Linked DNA regions of Homo sapiens: all the other regions are linked to region 1. Evidence: promoter capture Hi-C in 16 types of primary human blood cells and fetal thymus (Javierre and others, 2016). All regions are on one chromosome and are shown on one strand. The core of a region is centred on a gene start or on the middle of the fragment in contact, and the rest is flanking DNA. Distances in the headings are between cores, read along the strand shown. Region 1 holds the start of RAB13 (RAB13, member RAS oncogene family). Region 2 has its middle 36 kb from the start of S100A6. Region 3 holds the start of S100A6 (S100 calcium binding protein A6). Region 4 has its middle 4.9 kb from the start of S100A3. Region 5 has its middle 8.0 kb from the start of S100A2. Region 6 has its middle 8.8 kb from the start of S100A16. Region 7 holds the start of ILF2 (interleukin enhancer binding factor 2).

Region 1 (3,187 bases), core at 276-2,775:
CATGCATGCACACATGTAAAACTGTGTGATGGAAGGGACAGGAACGGAGCAGTGCTGGCACCAGAAATTCTGCAGGGGAGGCACTTGGGGAACAATCTTGTTGGAAATGCCAAGCTAGGAGAATTTTCCCAAAGCTGTATTTGTATAGCAAGAATACTATTTTTACGTACATTTTATGGATTTTGGGAGGGAAAAGGTGACGAAAATTCTGCATGGAGGCTTAAAATCCTTAGGCTGCCTCTTGGGTCCATTCAGTTATACCAGCTGACAACTCTCTGAATTCAGTCTCTGTCTCCCCCCAGATATTACTTTCACATTCCTCTTCTCTGTTTTCTTAGAGCCCTCTACTCTTGGTATCCCACCTACCCTCCTAGTAGAGAGTAAGGAAAAAAGTAGCTGAAGCCAGTCTATGTGAATTAACTAGTGGGCCAAACTTGGCACTAGGAAAGTCTGAGGCTAAACAGGATTACTTTTGAGACAATTAGGAAAGAGGGGCATTTTTCCTTTTCCTTTGTAACCAGAATTGTCGTGAGACTCTTCCTGTCTATTTCCCAAGCCAGAGGAGATGAAGAAAGAAGAGAAGGGAGGAGGGGAGACAATGTTCTTCTTAGTAGAAACTTGGGCACCTCCCCCAAGCCTGCTGGGGGCCCCTGGGAGGAGGATGAGTCACCAGGCTGACTCAGAGACCCCAAAAGTCCCCTCATTTCCACGTTCCTCACCAAGCTGGCTGCATATTCATGATCACAGTCCTTGGGCCACCCTCCAGCACACCCAGCCACCTTGTTCCACCCTTCCCAAACCCTTGTTCAGCTGAGGTGCAGGGAGACTGGGGCAGGGAACCTGGGAAGTAGATGGTGAGGTGGGGACACAGTGGGAGAGTTTGAAGCTCAGCAAGACAGAAAGAGGCTAGCATCGGATCGGGAGAAAAAGATGTGGCGGACAGGGATACAGGAAACATGGAGATAGGATCGAGAGAGTTCTAGGTGGTGGGGGTAGGGGAAGAGGGGAACAGAGAAAAATAGAGAAGAGTTCTTGTGGATTTGGGGAGACTAAGGCGATGGTACCAAGAAAATGAGGAGCTGGCAGCAGTTGAAGAGTTACCTGAAGGCCTCAGAGAGGTGAGAGGTTTGGTTACTATACAGAGACATGCACGGGGGAAGGGTCAGAGCCAGGGGTTGAGGGACTAGAATTTAGGAGCCTTACTCTAAGGGGACTGAAAAGTGGGGTCACTAGTAATCCGGGAGCCGGAGAAGGAGGTCACAGGAGAGTCGGGGTCTGGGACATGGCCAGCGGGCTCACCGATGGTGGAGATGTAAGTGTTGTTGAAGTTGTCCTCTGCAAAGCGAATGATCAGACAAGTCTTGCCCACCCCCGAGTCCCCGATCAGCAGCAACTTGAAGAGGTGGTCGTAGGCTTTGGCCATGGCGGACACCGGGGGAGCCGGGGGAGGGGTGGGGAGCGCCCGGCACTGGTAGGCGGGACTGGACGGTTGGCAAACAGAGCGGCACGGAGCCCAGGCCAGGAAGAAGTTTTCCTCCCTCTCCGCCCAGGCTCCGGGAAAGAGGAGAGGCGGCACCCCTCCGGGCTCCACCCCCTGCCCGCCCACCCTTTTGAGCAGGCCAAGGCTGCCAGCCCGGCCTCTGTTCTCTCGGTTTTCCCTTCCTAGCTTAGGCCGGCCTGTCTCTCTCGCTATTTTCCACAGCCTTTCGGTAATTGTAGCTCCCCTCTTAGGACCTTACTCTTCCATTCTGAGGCCAGAGAGGCTGGGGTGAAGGGAAGTAGAGGTTTAACCACGACGACCAGAAATTTTAGAAGAGAAATTTTAGAGGGATTAGGGGAAGAGAACCAAGAGTTTTGGGAATAAGGGTGAAGGTAGGGAGAGCACTAGAAATTGAAAAAAAAAAATGGGGCTGAGTTTTGGAGATGCTATTCAACGAAGCTAGAAGATGAGTTATCATCGGTTTCTGGGGCTGAGTAAAAGGCAGTCCTAGAATTTTACTGTTAGTTGTCCAAGCCCTTAGTTCTATGGGTCCCAATTCACTTTGAAAAAAGCGGGATGCGCAGAAGTAGGTTATTTGTTGAGTCAGTCTGCCCCCTGGTGGAACAGGGTGAAAACGTAAATTAGTTATACAGAATCGGCCCCACCACCCCAACACACACAGCCTACCTAGACACATCCTGGGGCTTCAGTTGGAACGATCTCTCTTATGGGGACCCATGTGTGATTTCTCTGACCAAATAGCTTAGGAAAACAGAGATTTGAACTAAAAATGTCATTCTTTACGTGAATCTTTTAATATGGCCCACTTAAGGTGCAGTACTCCTGAAATCTCACTCAATAGGCCATGAATGTGTAGCCTTGGTAACCAGGAAGCTGAAATATGAACAGCACGGGTATAAAGAAACAAGTTTGCCGGGCGCGGTGGCTCACGCCTGTAATCCCAGCACTTTGGGAGGCCGAGGCGGGCGGATCACGAGGTCAGGAGATCGAGACCATCCTGGCTAACATGGTGAAACCCCATCTCTACTAAAAATACACACACACACACAAAATTAGCCGGGCGTGGTGGCAGGCGACTGTAGTCCTAGCCACTTGGGAGGCTGAGGCAGGAGAATGGCGTGAACCCGGGAGGCAGAGCTTGCAGTGAGCCGAGATTGCGCCACTGCACTCCAGCTTGGGCGACAGAGCCAGACTCCGTCTCAAAAAAAAAAAAAAAAGAAAGAAAGAAAGAGAGTAAAAGAGAAACAAGTTTATCTCTGCCTTTAGAAAAAAATTATTCTTGCTATATGTGTGCTGGGGGTGGAAAAAAATACGAAACACGAAAGAAAGAAAATATTATCTAAGACCTGTTGCGGTGGCTCACACTTGTAATCCCAGCACTTTGGGAGGCCAACGTGAGAGGATCCCTTAAGCCCAGGAGTTCAAGACCAGCTTGGGCAACATAGTGAGACTGCTTCGACAAAAAAAAAAAAAAAAAAAAAAAAAAATTAGCCATACATGGTGGTGTGGCCTGTAGTCCCAGCCGCAGCTACTTGGGGGACAGAAGTGGGCAGAACACTTGAGCCCAAGAGTCCAAGGCTGTAGTGAGCCACGATTATGATGCCACTGCTCTCCAGCCTCGGTGATAGAGTAAGATCCTGTTTCAAAAAAATTTTTTATTTATTTTTTAATTAATTAATTAATTTT
Region 2 (3,187 bases), core at 432-2,931, 490 kb before region 1:
AGAAGGTTGCTTAGAAGTACCACTTATGGGACAGTCACAGTGGCTCAAATCTGTAATTCCAGCATTTTGGGAGGCCAAGGCAGCAGGATTGCTTGAGGCTGGGAGTTCAAGACCAGCCTGGGCAACATAGCAAGACCCCATCTCTACAAAATATTTTTTTTAATTGGCCAGGTGTGCTAGCACATGTCTGTAGTCCCAACTACTTGGGAAGCTAAGACAGGAGGATTGTTTGAACCCAGGAGCTTGAGGCTACAGTGGGCTAGGATCACACCACTGCACTCTAGCCTGGGTGACAGTGAGATTCCGTCTTAAAAAAAAAAAAAAAGACACCATTTATGGCCTGGCAAGCTTCACTTGAGGGTGAATTGACAGGAACCAGCTGTTTATGCTGGAACTGAAAAGGCTTTATTCTAGGGGGCCAAGGTAAACGAGCCAGAGTATGTGTTAATTTTTTTAAAGAAGAGCAGGACCTAGACAGCTATTGCTCTGCAAGCAGATGAGAAAGAGAGGAAAAGGGTTTGACTGCCCTAGCTGGTGCCTGGACAGACTTTCAGTTAACCCTAGCATTGCCTGTCCCTTCTCATTTCCACCCTACATGGTCAACTCATCCCTAAGTCTCTCTGGGGCTCCAAAGTGTAGGTCAGCTCCACCTCCTCCCCAGTCCTTTGCAGGCATCATATTCTGTTCTGAGGCTTCCTCCACTCTGTTTTATCCATCAGCACACCTCCTTTGCCTTTCCAGCTTGGGGAAATGTTTAAATCTCCTACCCACTGTCTGATCCACCTTATATCATCTCTGCTGTGATGGGTTTATAGTCGCCCTTTAATGGGATCTCTGAAGGGAGACACAAACACAAGTCCTCAACCCATTATTTGGAATAAAATATCCTTTATGCTTCATTTGTTGTATTTCCTCCCAGACTTTTTTATAGCCATAAGTTTACGTTTCGCACCATACTAATTTCACAGGAGATTCATAAGTTTTCAGAAAAGAAAAGGGAAAAAGTACAGACAAATAACTTTGGAAAATTTCTCCCTTTTAGAAATTCACAGTACACATTAGTATAATAATGCGTCAGTCAATATTCAGAAATGCGAGCAGCAGAAACTGCCTCAAACTGATTTGAGGAGAACAAAATTTTACTTAAATAACACTAAATTCTAGTATTCTCAAAAAACTGAAATAATTCTAGATTCAAGAAGACTAGAGAACTAGGGTTTAGAAGGTGGGCAAGAACAAAGGAAAGTTACACAAAGAGAAATGCCAAAATCACACCGCCAAAACAGCCTGGTGAGGACCTTGGCATAGTCACTCTGAACACTGAATGGCATGGGCACTGAGGAATGTGGCTGGCCCCTGCCAGGAAGGGTTCCCCAGCACCTCTGCTTCCGGGGGTAACCAGCCCAGCTCCAACTCCCAGACAGGTGTATCTATCCGACTGGTGAAGCCACCAGGGAAGAGAAAAGGTAAGGAACTGGGATCATCCGCTTCTGCTGTAGGAGATGGACACTGCCTGATGAGACGAGAAAGTCCACACATGGAAGATGAGGGTCCAGGAGCTGGGTGGCCAAAAAGAAAAAATATCCAATAAGGCACTGAGAAGACTTGCCAAAATGAAATGGTTTTACATGGTTTTGCTTAGATTTTCCTAGCCTTGTTTTACCAGATCCCTTTTTCTGGAACAATTATTCACAAACATCTCATAGAAAGTAGTGTTCTACAGAAAGCAATATGAGAAATGCTGTCATATAAGTTTAGAGAAATTGTTACCATTTTTACACAAAATTGGAATTACACTGTACATACAATTTTGCATCATTTAATGTGTAACAGCATATAACTTACCTGTATATCAGTTAACAGAGCATAGTTAATTTTCTTTTCTCTTTTTTTCCTTTTTTTTAAGAGACCAGGTCTTGCTCTATTGCCCAGGCTAGAGTGCAGTAGCTATTCACAGGAGTGATCCCAATACTGATCAGCACAGGAGTTTTGACCTGCTGCATTTCTGACCTGGGCCAGTTCACCCTCCTTAGGCAACCTGGTTGTCCCCTGCTCCCAGGAGGTCACCATATTGATGTCAAACTTAGCGTGGACACCCAATTAATTGGCATAGTGCACTGCAGCCCAGGACTCATAGGCCCAAGAGATCCTCCCGCTTCAGCCTCCTGAGTAGCTGGAACTATAGGCACGCACCAGCACACCCAGCTAATTTTTTATTTTTTGTACAGACGGGGTCTCCCGTCTGGTTGGCCAGGCTGGTCTTGAACTCCTGGCCTCAAGCGACCCTCCCGCCTTGGCCTCCCAAAGTGCTGGGATTACAGGTGTGAGCCACTACACCCAGCCTGTTTTTCTTTTTAATACTTCCTCACCCTTTCCTTTGCTTTCTGCTTTCATTTTATGTGTCCTGTTTTGTTTTATCAGATGCTCTGGTTATTTGGAAAACATATTTTTCTCTCCATTTTCCCTGCATGTACTTTAAAGATTTTCAAAAACATTTTTACAAATATTATTCTAATCTTGAAAATTAAGAATAAATGTATATCCTTTTATTCTCCTCATGTAAAATGAGGAAATTAATACACTTTTACTCTTTCTCAATCTGCTTGCTACTTACTGGTGTCCAGCAATATGGCTTGTGACTTAAACTCTGATTCTTGCTAATTCTTTTTTCTTTTTTGAGAGGGAGTCTCGCTCTGTCGCCCAGGCTGAAATGCAGTGGCACAATATCGGCTCACTGCAACCTCCACCTCCCAGGTTCAAGCGATTCTCCTGCCTCCGCCTCCCGAGTAGCTGGAATTACAGGTGCCCACCACCACACCCAGCTGATTTTTGTATTTTAGTAGAGACGCGGTTTCACCATGTTGGCCAGACTGGTCTCGAACTCCTGACCTCAGGTGATCCTACCACCTCGGCCTCCCAAAGTTCTGGGATTACAGGTGTGAGCCACAGGGCCCAGCCTGATTATTGCTAATTAATTGTATTTTCATTTTATTTTTTCTTGAAATAATTATTTTTTAAGCTTACAGTAAATTTTATTATTATATTTCAATTATTTAGATCTAACAGTATGTTTAACCAGTTTTATTGGTTTACCATCAAGAATTCTAAGTCACCATTCCAGAATTCTTAAAATTTTTATTCATCTTTTAGCCAGTCTTGAAGTAATTTACTTCAAGAAGAGAACATG
Region 3 (3,187 bases), core at 188-2,687, 450 kb before region 1:
AAGCCAAGGAGGAACAGAAATCATTCGGAAGCCAGGACGCAAGGGTAAATTTGACCAAAAAAAATTTATTGTACAATTACCCACCACTGGATTTGACTCAGAGAGGACCCCCAGAGGGTGTCTCCATCTTCCCTATTTATTTTCAGCCCTTGAGGGCTTCATTGTAGATCAAAGCCAAGGCCCCCAGGAAGGTGACATACTCCTGGAAGTTCACCTCCTGGTCCTTGTTCCGGTCCAAGTCTTCCATCAGCCTTGCAATTTCAGCATCCTGCAGCTTCTAATGTGTTAGAATGTGAAATCCATACTCAGTGGTGATGACAACCCTGGATTCTTCCCCTTCCCCCTCCCAGGCAATCCTCTCTGCAAGTGGCTCTGTGCTCCCTCATCACCAAGGACCCATGTCACTTTGGCATTGCTTCTCCTCAGCTACTTCTCAGTTACTGGTCCTCATTTGGAGAGATGGATATCCGGCTGGAAGCATCCCCTACCCGCTGGGAGAGTGGGTCTACAGCTCAGGGTCTACATGTGGACCAGGGCCTCAGAATGTGGGTAAATGTGAGTCAGATGCACCTGGCACCTCTCTCTCCCCTAATCCTGCTTCCAAAGGACAAGGGTGGGAAAAGGGGTCCTGGGGAGGAGGCCACTCACCGAGCCAATGGTGAGCTCCTTCTGGATCAGCTCCTTCAGCTCCTTCTTGCTCAGGGTGTGCTTGTCACCCTCCCTGCCGGAGTACTTGTGGAAGATGGCCACGAGGAGGCCAATGGCCTGATCCAGGGGGCATGCCATGGCTGAGGGCTGGGCTTGGAGCTGGCAGCAGAGGGCCTAGTCAGTGCCATGGGAGCAAGGACTTCTCACCCACACACCCCAATAATGCTGCCTGCACTAGCCCCGCCTCCTTTGGAACCACCCAGTCTCAGGCCACACACAATGGCATCAGGAGACAGCCCAGGGCTTGAAGGGGAAGGAGAGAGCACACTAGGGCCAAGGCAAGAGAGGTGGCTTAAGGATTCTAAGAAGCATATAGGAACAGTAGCTTTGGGCACAGCTGAGAACTGTCCTTCAGGGGATCCAGAAGTTGAGGAGTATGGCTGGGCAGGGGAGGGGAATGGAGGCTGCAAAGGCAGCTTAAACACAGCTTCACAGGGCCACACATGGTGGCAATGACACACCCAGGGCACTCCCTTCCGCACCCCAAAAGAGCACACCCCATTGCGATCCCTTAGCCCAAGGCCTGCCTGGCACAGCACTGCTGCTCCTGACTATCCCTCCAGCGGGGGAGCGCCACAGATGGCCCCAGTCTGGATCCAGCGGCTGAACTGGGCAGGGGATGGCTGGACCCCCAGCGTGAGGGCAGCTGGCCCTGGAAAGTACCCAGGGCTCCTGGAGAGAACTCACCGGTAGGGAGGCGGCCAAATGCGACGCGAGCGGTCGAGGGGATGGGCTGTGTCGCAGTCCGACTGGCCTTATAGCGGTCGGTGCCCCGGAGGCCAGCTCGGCCAAGCCCACCCCGCCCGCCCAAGTCCCGCCCGCGCCCCACCCTGCGCCGTGGCTTACACAACGCACATTCGCGGTTTACCCCCTCGACTTTCCACGCCTCCTGCCCGGGGCTGTTCCGGGTTAGGACGGGATGGGGGAGCCCAGCAGTGCCCACTGCACGCCTGGTGACGAGTCTCCCCTCATCTGCGCAGCTCAGTTTGCTCAGTTTGCTCTTCGTGACACGTGACTCGGCAAGGGGAGCAGGAGGAGGACTGCGGCGGTCACCCCTGCTTCCTCTGCCAGACCGTGAATGTGACCCTCGAGCCAGCGCAGCGTCAATGTGGGCAAGGAGGGCGCCTCACAGGATGCCGGTGTCCCACAGAGGATACTCAGGGTCACCCCAGAGGAGATAGGGGGAGTAGCCAGTGGTGTAAAGGATATCTACGGCGCCCATCCCCCACCAGCAACAAGTTCCTACCAACACCTCCACTCCTTCCCCTCAGTGCCCCAAATTCCATTCACTACAGCACCTTTGGTGTTAATGTGCATGCACGTGGGAGCCCAGCCCTGTAAGCACCATTCGTTATTTACGGGGGAGTGAAGGCCTTTTCAGACCCTCCCCTGAGAAAAGATTTTGATGGAGGAGGCAGGGAGAGAAGAAAGCACTGTCCCCCATAGATGATGAGAGTGGTGCTATTGAAGGGGAAATGGTGAAGAGGGAGGGGGCTGGTGTGGAGGCCAGACATGCCCTTCCTACAGGTGCTGCCAAGGTGGCCTCCGGTGAGCTGTGGACAAGTCAGGCCTGCCTGCCTATCACCGCCCTCAGGAGCCACTCCCAACCCCTCCCAGTGTCCTCCTCTCAAAGCAACTTTCCCTCTTAACTTCCTCTGCATCCTTGCAGAGTTCCCGCCTGGCCTAACTTCCCCATTTTCCAGGCAGGCAAAACTAAGCCATGACAAAACCAATGACGTCCACACCAAAGAAGGAGAGGAATGCAGTGGGAGCCCAGGACCCTAACCCCCAGAGGCAGAAGCTGTCTCAACCCACTCAAGGAGAGACCCTTCCTGTGCTCCCCTCTCCCCAGGCCAAGGTAGACAAGACAGCTTCAAAACCAGACTCCCAGCACCTGCGATGGAAACTTTATTTCCTCCCATGGAAGGGTCCATCTGGGAGGGAGAGGAGGGCAGGGGGCCAAAGAGGGTCTGTGAGAGGAGCAGCCGAGGTCAGCAGCAAAGGGTGGAGGGTGAGGGTGGAGGGCAGCCCTGGTCACTTGTTGTCCTCTAGAAAGAAGTCGTTGTAGGCCATGCACAGCATGGTCAGGAACACCGAGTACTCCTTGAAGTCGATCTCCTGGTCGCTGTTCTTGTCCAGGCTCTTCATCAAGTCATCGATGCTGCTCTCCTTCATCTTTTGTGGACCCAGGTGGAGAGACAGCTCAGACCCCGCTCCCAGCCCTGCCCTCGCACCACTGCATGGTGTCATCCCCACCCCGAAACTTCAGGGTGAGCCCCAGCTGAGTCAATGACACTGTCAGCATCTCGACCCCCAGAGTCTGCCCACTGCCCACACCTAGGGAAGGGCCTGGCATGAGGTAGGGGGTCAGGGACCTGACTCCTGAATGGAAATAAATGACAGCAGGAATGCTAGCCTAGCCTGCCTTCCCTGCAATACTGTCCCCCAGCCAAAGAAACAATCATCTAGGTTTTATACC
Region 4 (3,187 bases), core at 299-2,798, 430 kb before region 1:
AGACTGCGGGGAGGGCGGGAGCTCATTCTGGGAGGTGAGGCCTGAGGGGTGGGGTGGGGGGACAGAGTTGTCAAGGTACAGGACTTTGGGGTTGGCAGACTGTCATGGAAAGAACCTCTAGGCTCTACCTTCCTCTTGCCACCTGCCCTCAAGCATGTTACATTCTTTACCTTGTTAGAGCCTTAATTTCCTTACCTCCAAAATGGGTTTGGAAGATTCCTACTTTAAGAATCCGACATGAAAGCGCTTTCTATCACTCGCTGTCACTGTGGACAATGTCAGGGCAGAGGCCTCTGAGTCCAATTCAACAAACATGCACTGAGTCACCTCAGTGGGGCTTCAGGGAGGGCGGGAGGGGAGGGAAAGAACCAGCCTCTCCCCAACAGTTCACTTGGTCCTGCCTCCTCCATGCAGGTGGAGGGGAGAGCTGTAACTTCCCTTCCCTTGCTTTCACAAACTCTTCTTGGGATGATTGGACTCTCTGCCCTGCTGGAAGTTCTTCCCCAGCATCTCCCCTGAATCTCCCTTTCTGCAGTGGTTCCGAATGCATCCCACATGAACCGCCCCTCCAAGGCCTGGAGAGGGACCGTCCTCCTCCCACACCCCGTCCAGTGTCCACACACTCAATTGTTCATGCTCGGGCTGAGCCCAGGACCCTTGCTGCTCACCTTCCAGAGCCGCCTCCCCCGCCCCCACTGCAGATGTGGAGCTGACCACTGAGAAATGCACCATATTTGGAGGGCAAGGAGCTCTCTCCCCGTAGGGGCAACGCGTGTGGGTGCATGAAGGGTGAGAGCTGACACTATCTGATCTGGCAGGACTTATTATAGCACTGACTCTCTCTCCCCTGCACCCATTCTCCCTGGCTCTGTCGCCCCAATATCACCACTATCACCATACGCCCTTGGAAACTGCACCGCCTCCCTGAAGGTCAGTGTCTGGTTCTGAACCTCGGGGAAGAACAAGATAAATTGTCCTGAGCATCTGGATATCCCACATGCTTGTGCCAAAAGGGCCTGGGCCCCAGAGACAGGGTGAACCCACCCCAATCCCATAGCCCCATGGGACCAACGAACCTTGTCAAAATGATTAGCTTCCTTTCTCATCATCTGAGCCAAATATAGGGAAGGTGTAGGAAGGGGTATTTGATGACTGGGACTGGTGTAGAGCCAGGAAGGCCTTTGCTACAGAATTGGGGACTGGGCCTGGGGAGATGGGAAGAGGATCTGAACTGAGATCAAAGAGGCCTGTGGACCTATTACTTAGACCTACTACTTCTTTTGACTGCCAAGTCATTGACTGATTGTGACCAATTCATAGATGAGAGCAGTGAGTCAGTGGAGAGATCAAGTGACCTAAAGACAAGGGCATGGGGGCCCTATTTCAGCCAGTCCCTTGTCTCAGAGCCCAGCTTTGCCTTCATTCTGTCCTTTCCTGGAGGGTTAATAGGCTGCCAGGGATTAATGCGAAACAGCAAATGCCAAAGTGACAGTAGGGCAGGATGCAGGGTGAGGTATGTGTTCCTGAGGCTCTCCTCCAGCAGCAGCTCTAGGAGGAAGTGGGAGACAACTGGCCCAACAAACTTTTGAACAGAGCTATTTCTAGACTCTCCTCCTCTGTGCCTCTGCACAGAGATTTGGGGAGAGGAAAGGGGATAAGGGAAGATTGCCGGAACCATCTGGGAAAGTGGTGTTTGTTAGTTTGTCAAATGCCCAGAAGGAAAGGAAATCAGCCTCTTTCAGAACCTGCCCAGCTCCAAGGGCAGCCAGCTGAGGCTAGTCTCCACCAGCCAAAACAGCCCCAGAACCTGAGCCAAGAGAAGCCAGGAATTGTTGTGAGCCTAAGGCCCAAAAGAAACCAGACTGCACTAATCCACCAGGAGCAAGTGGGCCTGCTTCCCCCAGTGACTCAGGATAGGGACACTGAGAGTCTGGATGCTGCTCATCCAGGTCCCTTTCACCTTACACAAAGCCCCAGGCTTTGGAGATGGCTGTGGGAAGGGGAGGAAGGCCCGGACTGCCACCCTAGTGTCCACAGGGATGAGGACCTTTCTTAAGACATGGGTCAAGTCCTGACGCTACTCCTTATTTAACCTCTCCCAGCCTCTGTTTCCTTGTCTGTGACGTGCAGAAACTAATAGCATAGCTCTGCTCTCACCCAGTTGCCCCGAGGATTAAATGAGATGACACTTGAATAGACCAGCAGAGTGCCTAGCTGGAGGGAGTGCTCCACAAATGACAGATGCTGCTCCCTCTCAGTTTCCTCATCTGTAAAAACGGCCTAATGATAGCTCCTCTCGGGGTTACCATGAGGCTGAAATTACAGTGTGCATGAAAGGAACTCTGAGAACTGCTACAGAAATGTTAATTACCATCATCATGATTCCCTGACCTATAGTTACTGGCTCCCTTTCCTACAGGATATTAGGAAGGTGGGCTTCTCTCTTTTTATTGCTATGAAAAGAGACCATGTATCATTGAAGGCCTGCTCCGCCTTGCCTCGCCAGCCCCAGATGTGCAGTCAAGGCAGAATCATAAGTGAGAACAAGCAATTGTCCCAGCGCCTTCTCACTTGGCCTTTTCTGTCTCTGGGGACCCTATCTGAGCTACTCTGGAAGTGGTTCTCAAAGATCGATTTCCCAAGTAAGTAAAAAAACAGTTCAGGCCAGGCATGGGGGCTCACGCCTGTAATCCTAGCACTTTGGGAGGCCGAGGCGGGCGGATCACGAGGTCAGGAGATCGAGACCATCCTGGCTAACACGGTGAAGCCCCGTCTCTACTAAAAATACAAAAAAATTAGCCGGGCATGGTGGCGGGCGCCTGTAGTCCCAGCTACTCGGGAGGCTGAGGCAGGAGAATGGCGTGAACCCTGGAGGCAGAGCTTGCAGTGCGCCGAGATCGCACCACTGCACTCCAGCCTGGGCGACAGAATGAGACTCCATCTCAGAAAAAAAAAAAAAATTCAGGAAAACACTCTGCATTACTCTTCCACTATCCATCCCCTCTTTCTTCATTATTAAGACCCATTTTTTTTCTTCTAAGATGTCAATGTGGTCAGCTAAAAACCCTTGGTTACAGCTAAGACTAGCCAAATTACACAGTTAAGGCCAAAGATGTAAGTGGAAGTCTCTGGGGGAGGGCACTTCTATCATAATAAAAAGGCAAAGGCTCCTGTGGAAAAGGCATTT
Region 5 (3,187 bases), core at 516-3,015, 410 kb before region 1:
GAGCCCTGCTTGAGTACTTTTTCCCAGAACTCAAAAGAAAGAAGGATGTGGCCGGGCATTGTGGCTCACACCTGTAATCCCAGCATTTTGGGAGGCCAAGGTAGGTGGATCACCTGAGGTTGGGAGTTCGAGACCAGCCTGACCAATATGGAGAAACCCCATCTCTATTAAAAATACAAAATTAGCCAGGTGTGGTGGCGCATGCCTGTAATCCCAGCACTAGAAAGCTGAAGCAGGAGAATTGCTTGAGGCCAAGTGTGAGACCAGCCTGGTCAACAGAGTGAGCTAAACAAAATAATAATGATAATAATGTCAGTGTATCATAGTTCCTGAGTTCTCACGCCTGACACCTGGCTCGAGAACACAGGATATTTCCACCCTGGCCTGCCAGCTCCTCATGGTTTCCCACAGCTAGAGGCCGCTGCTGTCCTGGCAAGGGCATAGGCCTGGGTATAAGGCAGGCTTGAGTCTGAAGCCAGGCTCCACTATTTGCCAGCATAGAGGACCAAGAAGGAACAATGTCACTTGGTAAAACTGAAACTGGTGCTAACAGGGATCAACATAAATCAGGGTGATTCACAGTCTTCCCAGAAACACCCAACTTGAGAGATGCATTCTGTGTTCTGATAAATCCAAGTTACTTTCTAAATCTTAGAAAGGGACTAAGGGCAGCTTCAGAAAAAGAAAAGTGACTCAGGAGAGTGGGTGGTGATTTGTAATATTATAGTGTGTTGCTCATGAGGAAGTGGTTTAAAGAAAGACATTTTTGGAGATCAATATGTAATACTAGGAAATGGTTATTGCAAAGGAATTAAGACTTTGGATTCTGGATTTGAATCTTGACTCCACCATATTCTAATTCTGTCAATCAAGATCTTTCAGCTAAAAGAGACAGAAGTTTAATTCAAGCTCACCAAAGTAAAAATGTGGTGTATTGTGTTACATCGCATTAAGGTCACTGTGATAATTCACAGGATCAATAAACCACAGCCATGGGGACCAGAATGAGGAACTCAACACCATCCATCCATCCATTCTTCTCTCATGCTGTTTGTGTCTTTTTGCATGTGGGCATCACCCTTAGTATAGCATAGCAGAGCCTCTCCAAATAATGAGGAATGTGGCCACAGACTGCTCCAGCTTTGTAAACCCATTATCTATATATTAATCCAGAGAAGAGCGCTGATTGGCCCTGCTTGTCTCATATACTTAGCCATGGGCCAATTTCTGTTGCCAGGGAGACGGAGTGCTATGATTTGCCAGTGTGGTCAAGGGTCTCTTACTAAAAATAGGAAGCAAGTTACCACAGTTACTACACTCACCATGTAACCTTACAAACGTTACTTAACCTTTTCCTGAGCATCAGTTTCCTCTTCTGTAACATGGGAATACTATTGCCCACTTCACCTATCAAATGAGATAACACATTTGTATGTATGTAAAGTATAGGGAGGACTCAGTGAGTGTTATTACATGTATCAATAGAAGAAGAAACTGTGGGCCGGGCGTGGTGGCTCACGCCTGTAATCCCAGCACTTTGGGAGGCCGAGGCGGGTGGATCACAAGGTCAGGAGTTTGAGACTAGTCTGGCCAACATGGTGAAACCCCAACTCTACTAAAAATACAAAAATTAGCCGGCATGGTAGCACACGCCTGTAATCCCAGCTACTCAGGAGGCTGAGGCAGAAGAATCACTTGAACCCAGGAGACGGAGGTTGCAGTGAGCAGAGATCATGCCACTGCACTCCAGCCTGGATGACAGAGCAAGACTCTGTCTCGGAAAAAAAAAAAAAAGAAAAGAAAAGAAAAAGAAACTAACATATACTTAGAGCCAGTGTCATGGCCAAGATGGGGCCATCTGATGTATCAGCAACATAGAACCATGACCAAACCCCACATCCACTAAAATACAGGGATCATGATCTACTCCTGGTTTTCCTGTCAATATTTATTTATCCTTTGAGCCCACTTTTTGTCATCTGAAAGTATCAGGTGTTAGTTTAAGAAAAATAGTAAAGAAAACCTTAAAATTGAGAATAATCTGTTAATTTGCTACATTATTTCTCCTAGTTTGGAAATGCCCATATTTTTCTCATTATAATTGGTAAAACATCTAAGTCTAGCTTCAAAAGTAATGGACTTTGATGACAGCTTGCTTGATCCAGTTCAATGCTTCCCCCCATTTCAAAATAAGAAACTGGCTCTCCCCCTCCCCCTCCCCCTCCCTCTCCCTCTCCCCTTTCCACAGTCTCCCTCTGATGCCCAGCCGAAGCTGGACTGTACTGCCGCCATCTCTGCTCACTGCAACCTCCCTGCCTGATTCTCCTGCCTCAACCTGCCCAGTGCCTGCGATTGCAGGCGCGCGCCGCCACGCCTGACTGGTTTTCGTATTTTTTTGGTGGAGACGGGGTTTCGCTGTGTTGGCCGGGCTGGTCTCCAGCTCCTAACCAGAAGTGATCTGCCAGCCTCGGCCTCCCAAGGTGCTGGGATTGCAGATGGAGTCTCATTCACTCAGTGCTCAATGTTGCCCAGGCTGGAGTGCAGTGGCATGATCTCGGCTCGCTACAACCTCCACCTCCCAGCCGCCTGCCTTGGCCTCCCAAAGTGCCGAGATTGCAGCCTCTGCCCGGCCGCCACCCTGTCTGGGAAGTGAGGAGCGTCTCTGCCTGGCTGCTCATCATCTGGGACGTGAGGAGCCCCTCTGCCTGGCTGCCCAGTCTGGGAAGTGAGGAGCGCCTCTTCCCGGCCGCCATCCCGTCTAGGAAGTGAGGAGCGTCTCTGCCCGGCCGCCCATCATCTGAGATGTGGGGAGCGCCACTGCCCCACCGCCCCGTTTGGGATGTGAGGAGCACCTCTGCCCGGCCGCGACCCCGTCTGGGAGGTGAGGAGCGTCTCTGCCCGGCCACCCTATCTGAGAAGTGAGGAGCCCCTCCGCCCAGCAGCCGCCCCGTCTGAGAAGTGAGGAGCCCCTCCACCCGGCAGCCGCCCCGTCTGGGAAGTGAGGAGCGTCTCCGCCCGGCAGCCGTCCCGTCCAGGAGGTGAGGGGGCAGCCCCCGCCCGTCAAGCCGCCCCGTCTGGGAGGGAGGTGGGGGGTCAGCCCCCGGCCGGCCAGCCGTCCCGTCCGGGAGGTGGGGGGCGCCTCTGCCCGGCCGCCCCTTCTGGGAAGTGAGGAGTCCCTCTCCCCGGC
Region 6 (3,187 bases), core at 315-2,814, 380 kb before region 1:
GAAAAGAAACAGAAAGTAAAATTGTATTCACTGTGGGGAGGGAGAAACAGTTGTTGTTCAAAGGGTATAGGGTTACAGTCGTGCAAGATGAAAAAGTTCTGGAGATCTTTTGTACAATGTATATACGGTTAACAATACTGTAATGCACACTAAAAAAAGAGGTAAATTTGTGTCTTTTTTACCAGTTGACAGATAGCGATAGATAGATAGATAGATAGATAGATAGATAGATAGATAGATGATAGATAGATAGCAGATAGGTAGATAGGTAAGTAGATAAATAGATGATAGATTGATAGATACATAGATGGATGGATGGATAGATAGATAGAACCACCCCCCTCCCCCCGCCACCAACAAGACATGTTAACTCATTCTTTATCATTCAGTCAAGGTAGCATAGTAGGCCGGGCACGGCAGCTCATGCCTGTAATCCCAGCACTTTGGGAGGCTGAGGCAGGTGGATCTCTTGAGGCCAGGAGTTTGAGACCAGCCTGGCCAACATAGTGAAACCCCTTCTCTACTAAAAATACAAAAATTAGCTGAGTGTGGTGGCGCCAGCCTGTAATCCCAGCTACTGGGGGTGGGAAAGGAGGAACAGTACAACACCTTGAGTGCCACCCTGTTCCAGGGCAGATCAATTTTAGAAGGCTGAGGATCTGTAAGTGGATGCCAATAAAACTATTGTGCCTGTGCATCTTTTTGGAAAGTCTTAAGCTGTTCCCATTTAAAAACTGCTGATGCCCAGTTCTGCAGGGTGGGTTTCCTACTGGGATCTCCCTCAGTGCAAGAGCAGGGGAGAAACCAAGGAACTGGCAATGTCCCCTCCAGCAGCTGCAAGTCATGGCTTCCATTCCACCTGGCCTCCCACACTCCTTCTTCCTTGCACCTCTACTTCTCCATCCCACAACTTCTGTCTGTATCGGGATAGTCTACTAATGAGAATTCAGAGCCTCAGTGCCACTCATGGCTCAAGACTAAGGGTCATGGGGGTTCCCTCTCTTGGCTTTGGAGCCCCCCTCCCTCTGTCTCTGTATAGGGGAGCTTCTTCCTTCTCCCTTCCTTCTTGTCCCTCTTGCCTATTAAACTCTCCGCTCCTTAAAACCACTCCACGTGTGTCCATGTCGTTTTATCTAAACTGGCATGAGCACCAAGAACCCTGGTGTTCCTCCACTCATCAGAGCCGTATCATTTTAGTGCGTTGGCCAGGAAAGGAAATTCGTTCATCAGACTGAGTCAAGGAAACTTATTTTAAGCTATTTGTGGCCTTTAATAATTGAGTAAGGTGTACTCCTATGAACAAAATTTGGAGCATGTTTATTTCTCTGCCTGGTTCCTCTAGAATTTGGAAACTATCTGAATCAAGCTTGACAAGCAGAGCCAATAAAAGCCGCTTTGGGAGAACTGGCCTCATACCTTGTCTACACAGTCTCTGGACAGGGTTCCTAATCTGTAGTCAGTAAAGAATGTCATTTTTTAACACGTCTGGGAGCTCCGAGTTTATCTTGGGACCTCAAGAGGAGAGGATCACCCAACTAACAGGTATTTGAGGTTTGTATCCTCAAATACAAACTTTAGGCTTTAATAGTCTTATCTGAAATTCCTTGTGAAACAGAGTTTCATCAAAGCCAATCAAAAGGCCTGTGTACAAATAACCATTCTTGCTGCACTTTATGCAAATAATCAGGGCAAGTATAAGACTACAGTTTATTCATAACTTGTTTTTACCAAGAACGAGGACTAGAGAGAAAAATTGTGCTCCAAAGCTTATCATACATTTTTTTGTTTTTTGTTTTTGTTTTCAAGCTTTTCGCCTACATTTTAGACTAACCCTGCTTATTCCTGTGAATCAAGCAGTGATCTCCTGCAGCTTGGAAGAAAAATTAAGGGATGGGTAATATAAAATCTGAATCAATATATTAGTTCTGGGCAATTATTCTGCAAATTCTACCAGGTAATAAAAGTGAGTAGGGTGCCCATAACCCAGAGGTTTCTTCGTTTAGGAAAATAAAACCAAGGAACTTCATAGACCCCCAAAGGGGAATTCTATATCTTGACAGGTAAAAGTTTAGATGGAAATTATCTACCACACCACACTTATGGAAATAGCTATACTCACTCTATTATTTGCAATAGGATTATACATGGTAGCACCTTCTAACTGAAATATTAAACAGAGAGTTTCCATTGCTGTCATATTTTGCTTAATCATTATCCTTATAGCAGGGATAATAGCTACTAATGAAAAGGAAGCATAAAAGTTTTACTACCACTGAATCTGCTAGGACTTTTTATTGGGTTTAGTGATGCAGTTTTCAATGAAACATGCTGCTTTCGGATTAATGCCTCTAGTTAAAAGAAAATCTACAAGTACTTAAAAATCAAATCAAAATTATTGATCCCCGAGTGGCTACAATGCCTCTTTAATAAATTCCAGTCTTCTTTATGGAATTGGTTAACCCCTTTATTAAGCCCTCTCTTGCTTATGTGTCTTGTATTGATATTTGGACCCTGTATACACAATACTATAACTCAAATTGTTTCTTCTCATCTAGAAGCAATCAAACTCCAAATGGTGCTGTAAACAGAACCACACATAGACACATCATTCTTCTGAGGACCCTTAGATTGACCCCAGGAGGAGCCCTAGCTGCTCTTCCCCATTCGACGCCCTTTTGCAACAAGAAGTAGCCAGAAGGAGTCGTCGCCCAAAACTCCCTAACAGCAGTTAGTGTGGCATCTCCACAGGGGGGAATGTTGTAGGAGTTATTAAGAAATTATTTTAGGCAGATAGAGAGGAAAATGGGTCCTTGGGTCCTTGGGAAGTTTTTTGTTTTGTTTCTTTTTCTTTTTTTTTGAGACGGAGTTTTGCTCTTGTCGCCCAGGCTGGAGTGCAATGGTGCGATCTTGGCTCACCACAACCTCCGCCTCCTGGGTTCAAGCGATTCTCTGGCCTCAGCCTCCCGAGTAGCTGGGATTACAGGCATGCGCCACCACGCCCGGCTAATTTTGTATTTTTAGTAGAGACGGGGTTTCTACATGTTGGTCAGGCTGGAGTTTTCATTTTTTTGAAGCATCTCCAGAAAAGTTTCTTGTAAAGCCCCGGCTCTTAGAGCCAGGTTGGCAACCTTTGATATGCAAATGCAAGCCCTTAGAAACTGGGTCCACCCAAACATGGTGATTCCCC
Region 7 (3,187 bases), core at 491-2,990, 320 kb before region 1:
AACAAGGATAAAAGCTGGAATAGCCATAATTTAAGCTATCACTATCTTTATAGTAACAGATATACCATAAATACAATTACTTGTTCAGAACAAAGATTATAATCATGTTTAATGCCAACAGTAGCCAAGGAATTATTCTCCCCACCATGCTTACACTGTTTCTGTATGTAAAGCAACACACAGTTGACTCAAAACCCCAAATCTTTTCACAAATCACTTTCCCTCCCTATTTCAACCATCTTTTTTTTTTTGTAGTGGTGCCATCTTGGTTCACTGCAACCTCCGCGTCCCGGGTTCAAGCAATTCTCCTGCTTCAGCCTCCCAAGTAGCTGGGATTAGACACATGCCCAGCCAACTTTTTTATTTTTAGTAGAGACGGGGTTTCACCATATTGGCCAGGCTAGTCTCAAACTCCTGACCTTCAGGTAATCCATCTGCCTCGGCCTCCCAAAGTGCTGAGATTACAGGCGTGAGGCACTGTGTCTGCCCTCTTCAACCACCATCTAACTTCATTAACTGGGAGATACTGGGCTCCATTTCAACAGTGACCAGAAAATGTGTATCATTAACCCAAGGTACTCACCAAATAGAAGTCAAATGGGATATGTGGTACAAAGGGCCTGAACCTAAAACATGAAAAACAGCCAAATTATTCCCTAGGTAGGAATCAAGCGAGATGTAAATAACACGCCAACAATTTTGAAAACATGTCAGTCCTCAGAATGAGTGACAAAGTCTCCGGGGAGGGAAAGAATCATTCTTAGCATAGTGGGGCCAAATTCATTTAACAGGAGTGCAGGAAAAGACCACAGTTGGCTCTCGCAAAACCAAGTGACATTAGTCTACTCTAAAACTCCTATTTAGATGACAAGCAGAAACTAACAACCAAGTGCAGAGATGCTAAAAGCTGGTACTCACCCTCCTCCTGGGCCTCCTCTGGAACCAAAGCGCCCACCACGACCACGGCCTCTGTCACCCCTAGAAATGCAGATTTTATTTTGACCTCATTGAAGGAATACCCACCGGCCATATCATCTTAGGTTGGCTACTTTCATCCCTCGGAACCTCCCAACGGTAGGCAAGAGACCCCACTCACACTTACACTTGTCCCCATTCCAAATGGTGCCCAGTTACACCCCCATAACCTCCTCTAAGTTAATCCAACCCCCATCAAGTAATGATGGGGCTCAGTGAGCCCTACACTTAATAACCCATAATCCTGGGCCACACGAATCCTAATACTTCGGAGGCTAAAGATTGCTCATTTCTTCACTAAGGTACACATTTATCGGGCGTGTCCTAATGTCAAGGCCTTCGCACTGAGGATGAATGCGGCTCGCTCCAGCATTCTCAGCCCGGATGACGGGGGCGGGGGAAAGGTGGGGAGCTCCTCCAGGGGCTTGAGGACACCCCCTCATCGCAACCCTTCAGAGACAAAGGTGTCGAACCCCCCTCCCCACTCCTGGGCCCGAACCCCATCCCGGGCCCAAGTTTCCCCGCCTCTACCGGCCTCCATCTCTCCCACTATCCTAGACCAGGAGTTCTCAGGTTTTTGGCCAGCCCCCGGATACATGGCCCTTTCTGATACTCCGACTTCTTTCGGCCCACGTTCACAAAGTTTTCCGTCGAATACCTGAAACCTTTCGACCGCTTCGACCCACTTACCTCATGGCGCCTTAAAACACGAACAATGGAGGCCGCACCAACCGCCCCTTCCTCTGAGTAGCAGACAACTGAAGAGGCGTCTTGCCGGCGTGTCCCAATAAAACCCGGTGCGATTGGCTCCCGCCTTACCCCATCGCTTATGCCTATTGGCTTACTTTGTCAAACCGGGCTTATGAACCAATAAAAAACGCCTACTGTGTCAGGAACTAGCCAATAAGAACTGGTTCTATAGTAATGACGAATTTTTGATCAGACATTAGGTGGCACTAAAGAAGTCAGGACAACGACTACGTAGTGTTCTATAACAATCATGAGAAATTTTAGTTCTAGATAGCAGAGTGGCGCAGCGGAAGCGTGCTGGGCCCATAACCCAGAGGTCGATGGATCGAAACCATCCTCTGCTATCGGAGTTTTTTCATTGCCCTGTACGGCATACGTAATCTACGTTTCTTTAGTGAAGGAAAATATCTTGCCAATTTTCCTACCTCAAAAATGCAACCAATATCAGCTATTTTTGCCACTAGCAGTTGAAGTTGATGGGGAAAAGGGAGTTTAGGCAACTATGAACACTGCACGTCTACAAACTCGAAGCAGGAGAAACAGGTTTTAGATAGGAGAGGAGTATATTGATTGAATTAGTGTGGAAAACATGGTTTTCCATGTCCATGGAAACAGGTGATCCACCCGCCTCAGCTTCCGAAAGTGCTGGGATTACCGGCGTGAGCCACAGCGCCCAGCTTGGTTACATAAATTCTTTAGTGGTGATTTGTGAGATTTTGGTGCACTCATCACCCGAGCAGTATACACTGAACCCAACTTGTAGACTTTTATCCCTCACCTACCTCCCTTCCATAAGTACTTTTTCGATATTTAATTTACTACAGCAGAACGTAAACATCTTAAGTCTAAACGTATTCTGGCCACGTAACCACCATCCAGATTAAAATAAATATTATTAATTTTTAAAAAACAAGCAAACAAAAAGCGGACCGAGTGCGGTGGCTTGTGGCCACCCAGCACTGTGGGAGGCCGAGACGGGTGGATCACCCGAGGTCAGGAGTTCGAGATCAGCCTGGCCAACATGGTGAAACTCCGTCTCTACTAAAAATACAAAAATTAGCCGGCGTGCTGGCGGGCGCCTGTAATTCCAGTTACTCAGGAGGCTGAGGCAGGAGAATCTCTTGAATCCGGGAGGCGGAGGTTGCAGTGAGCTGAGATGGCGCCACTGCACCCCAGCCTGGGCGATAGAGGGAGACTCCGTTTAAAAAAAAAAAAATCTTACTTGAGGTTTGTTGAGCTTCTTGAATCAATGGCTTCAGGTTTGTCGTCCATTTATTAAATTTATCAGCTATTATCTCTTCAAGTATTAGTTTTACCTATTATTTCCCTCGTTCCTGAACTCCAAATAAAGACGGGTTAGACTTTTCCCCCAGTAATCTCTTTGTCTCTTACCCTCTCTTCTATTATTTCATTTTATTTAGACACAGGGTCTCACTCTGTTGCCCAGGCTGGAGTGCAGTGG

Evidence for each region. Contacts are between HindIII fragments. The CHiCAGO score rates a contact against its expected background, and 5 or more counts as called.
Region 2: a fragment that was not itself captured here is called in contact with the fragment with the promoter of RAB13 in region 1 in 1 of 17 cell types (total B cells); the score reaches 5.3 in total B cells.
Region 3: the fragment with the promoter of S100A6 here is called in contact with the fragment with the promoter of RAB13 in region 1 in 1 of 17 cell types (neutrophils); the score reaches 6.4 in neutrophils.
Region 4: a fragment that was not itself captured here is called in contact with the fragment with the promoter of RAB13 in region 1 in 4 of 17 cell types (naive B cells, M0 macrophages, total B cells and 1 more); the score reaches 6.8 in naive B cells.
Region 5: a fragment that was not itself captured here is called in contact with the fragment with the promoter of RAB13 in region 1 in 10 of 17 cell types (total B cells, naive B cells, M0 macrophages and 7 more); the score reaches 13.4 in total B cells.
Region 6: a contact is called between a fragment that was not itself captured here and the fragment with the promoter of RAB13 in region 1, in 2 of 17 cell types (total B cells and naive B cells). The highest score is 6.3, in total B cells.
Region 7: the fragment with the promoter of ILF2 here is called in contact with the fragment with the promoter of RAB13 in region 1 in 17 of 17 cell types (M2 macrophages, naive B cells, M0 macrophages and 14 more); the score reaches 22.5 in M2 macrophages.

The regions. Positions count from the first base shown.
Region 1 is chr1:153,984,814-153,988,000 of GRCh38, forward strand. RAB13 (RAB13, member RAS oncogene family) reads right to left here and starts at 1,526. Exons shown (of 8, transcript NM_002870.5): 1 at 1,300-1,526. The coding sequence starts at 1,423. RefSeq lists enhancers at 585-814, 1,128-1,629 and a silencer at 1,441-1,610. The HindIII fragment of the contact is 17,219 bases long and covers 1-3,187 here.
Region 2 is chr1:153,498,559-153,501,745 of GRCh38, forward strand. It overlaps the pseudogene RN7SL44P. Among named protein-coding and RNA genes, the nearest start is that of S100A6, 36 kb to the right of the region's middle. The HindIII fragment of the contact is 2,671 bases long and covers 347-3,017 here.
Region 3 is chr1:153,534,554-153,537,740 of GRCh38, forward strand. S100A6 (S100 calcium binding protein A6) reads right to left here and starts at 1,438. Exons shown (of 3, transcript NM_014624.4): 1 at 1,396-1,438; 2 at 649-807; 3 at 46-277. The coding sequence starts at 786. The coding sequence ends at 143. It overlaps S100A5 (S100 calcium binding protein A5), which reads right to left. Exons shown (of 3, transcript NM_001394232.1): 3 at 2,594-2,883. The coding sequence ends at 2,743. LOC124904423 (a long non-coding RNA gene) reads left to right here. Exons shown (of 2, transcript XR_007066630.1): 2 at 351-3,122. RefSeq lists an enhancer at 1,428-2,063. The HindIII fragment of the contact is 28,060 bases long and covers 1-3,187 here.
Region 4 is chr1:153,552,578-153,555,764 of GRCh38, forward strand. No RefSeq gene overlaps it. Among named protein-coding and RNA genes, the nearest start is that of S100A3, 4.9 kb to the left of the region's middle. The HindIII fragment of the contact is 6,930 bases long and covers 1-3,187 here.
Region 5 is chr1:153,572,259-153,575,445 of GRCh38, forward strand. No RefSeq gene overlaps it. Among named protein-coding and RNA genes, the nearest start is that of S100A2, 8.0 kb to the left of the region's middle. RefSeq lists enhancers at 526-615, 2,230-3,010, 3,011-3,187. The HindIII fragment of the contact is 6,913 bases long and covers 1-3,187 here.
Region 6 is chr1:153,602,725-153,605,911 of GRCh38, forward strand. No RefSeq gene overlaps it. Among named protein-coding and RNA genes, the nearest start is that of S100A16, 8.8 kb to the right of the region's middle. RefSeq lists an enhancer at 2,306-3,187. The HindIII fragment of the contact is 400 bases long and covers 1,365-1,764 here.
Region 7 is chr1:153,669,253-153,672,439 of GRCh38, forward strand. It overlaps ILF2 (interleukin enhancer binding factor 2), which reads right to left and starts at 1,741. Exons shown (of 14, transcript NM_004515.4): 1 at 1,666-1,741; 2 at 919-978; 3 at 584-626. The coding sequence starts at 1,670. It overlaps TRX-CAT1-1 (tRNA-iMet (anticodon CAT) 1-1), which reads left to right and starts at 1,998; the gene lies at 1,998-2,069. RefSeq lists a silencer at 1,761-2,140 and enhancers at 2,181-2,320, 2,871-2,950, 2,961-3,010. The HindIII fragment of the contact is 12,664 bases long and covers 1-3,187 here.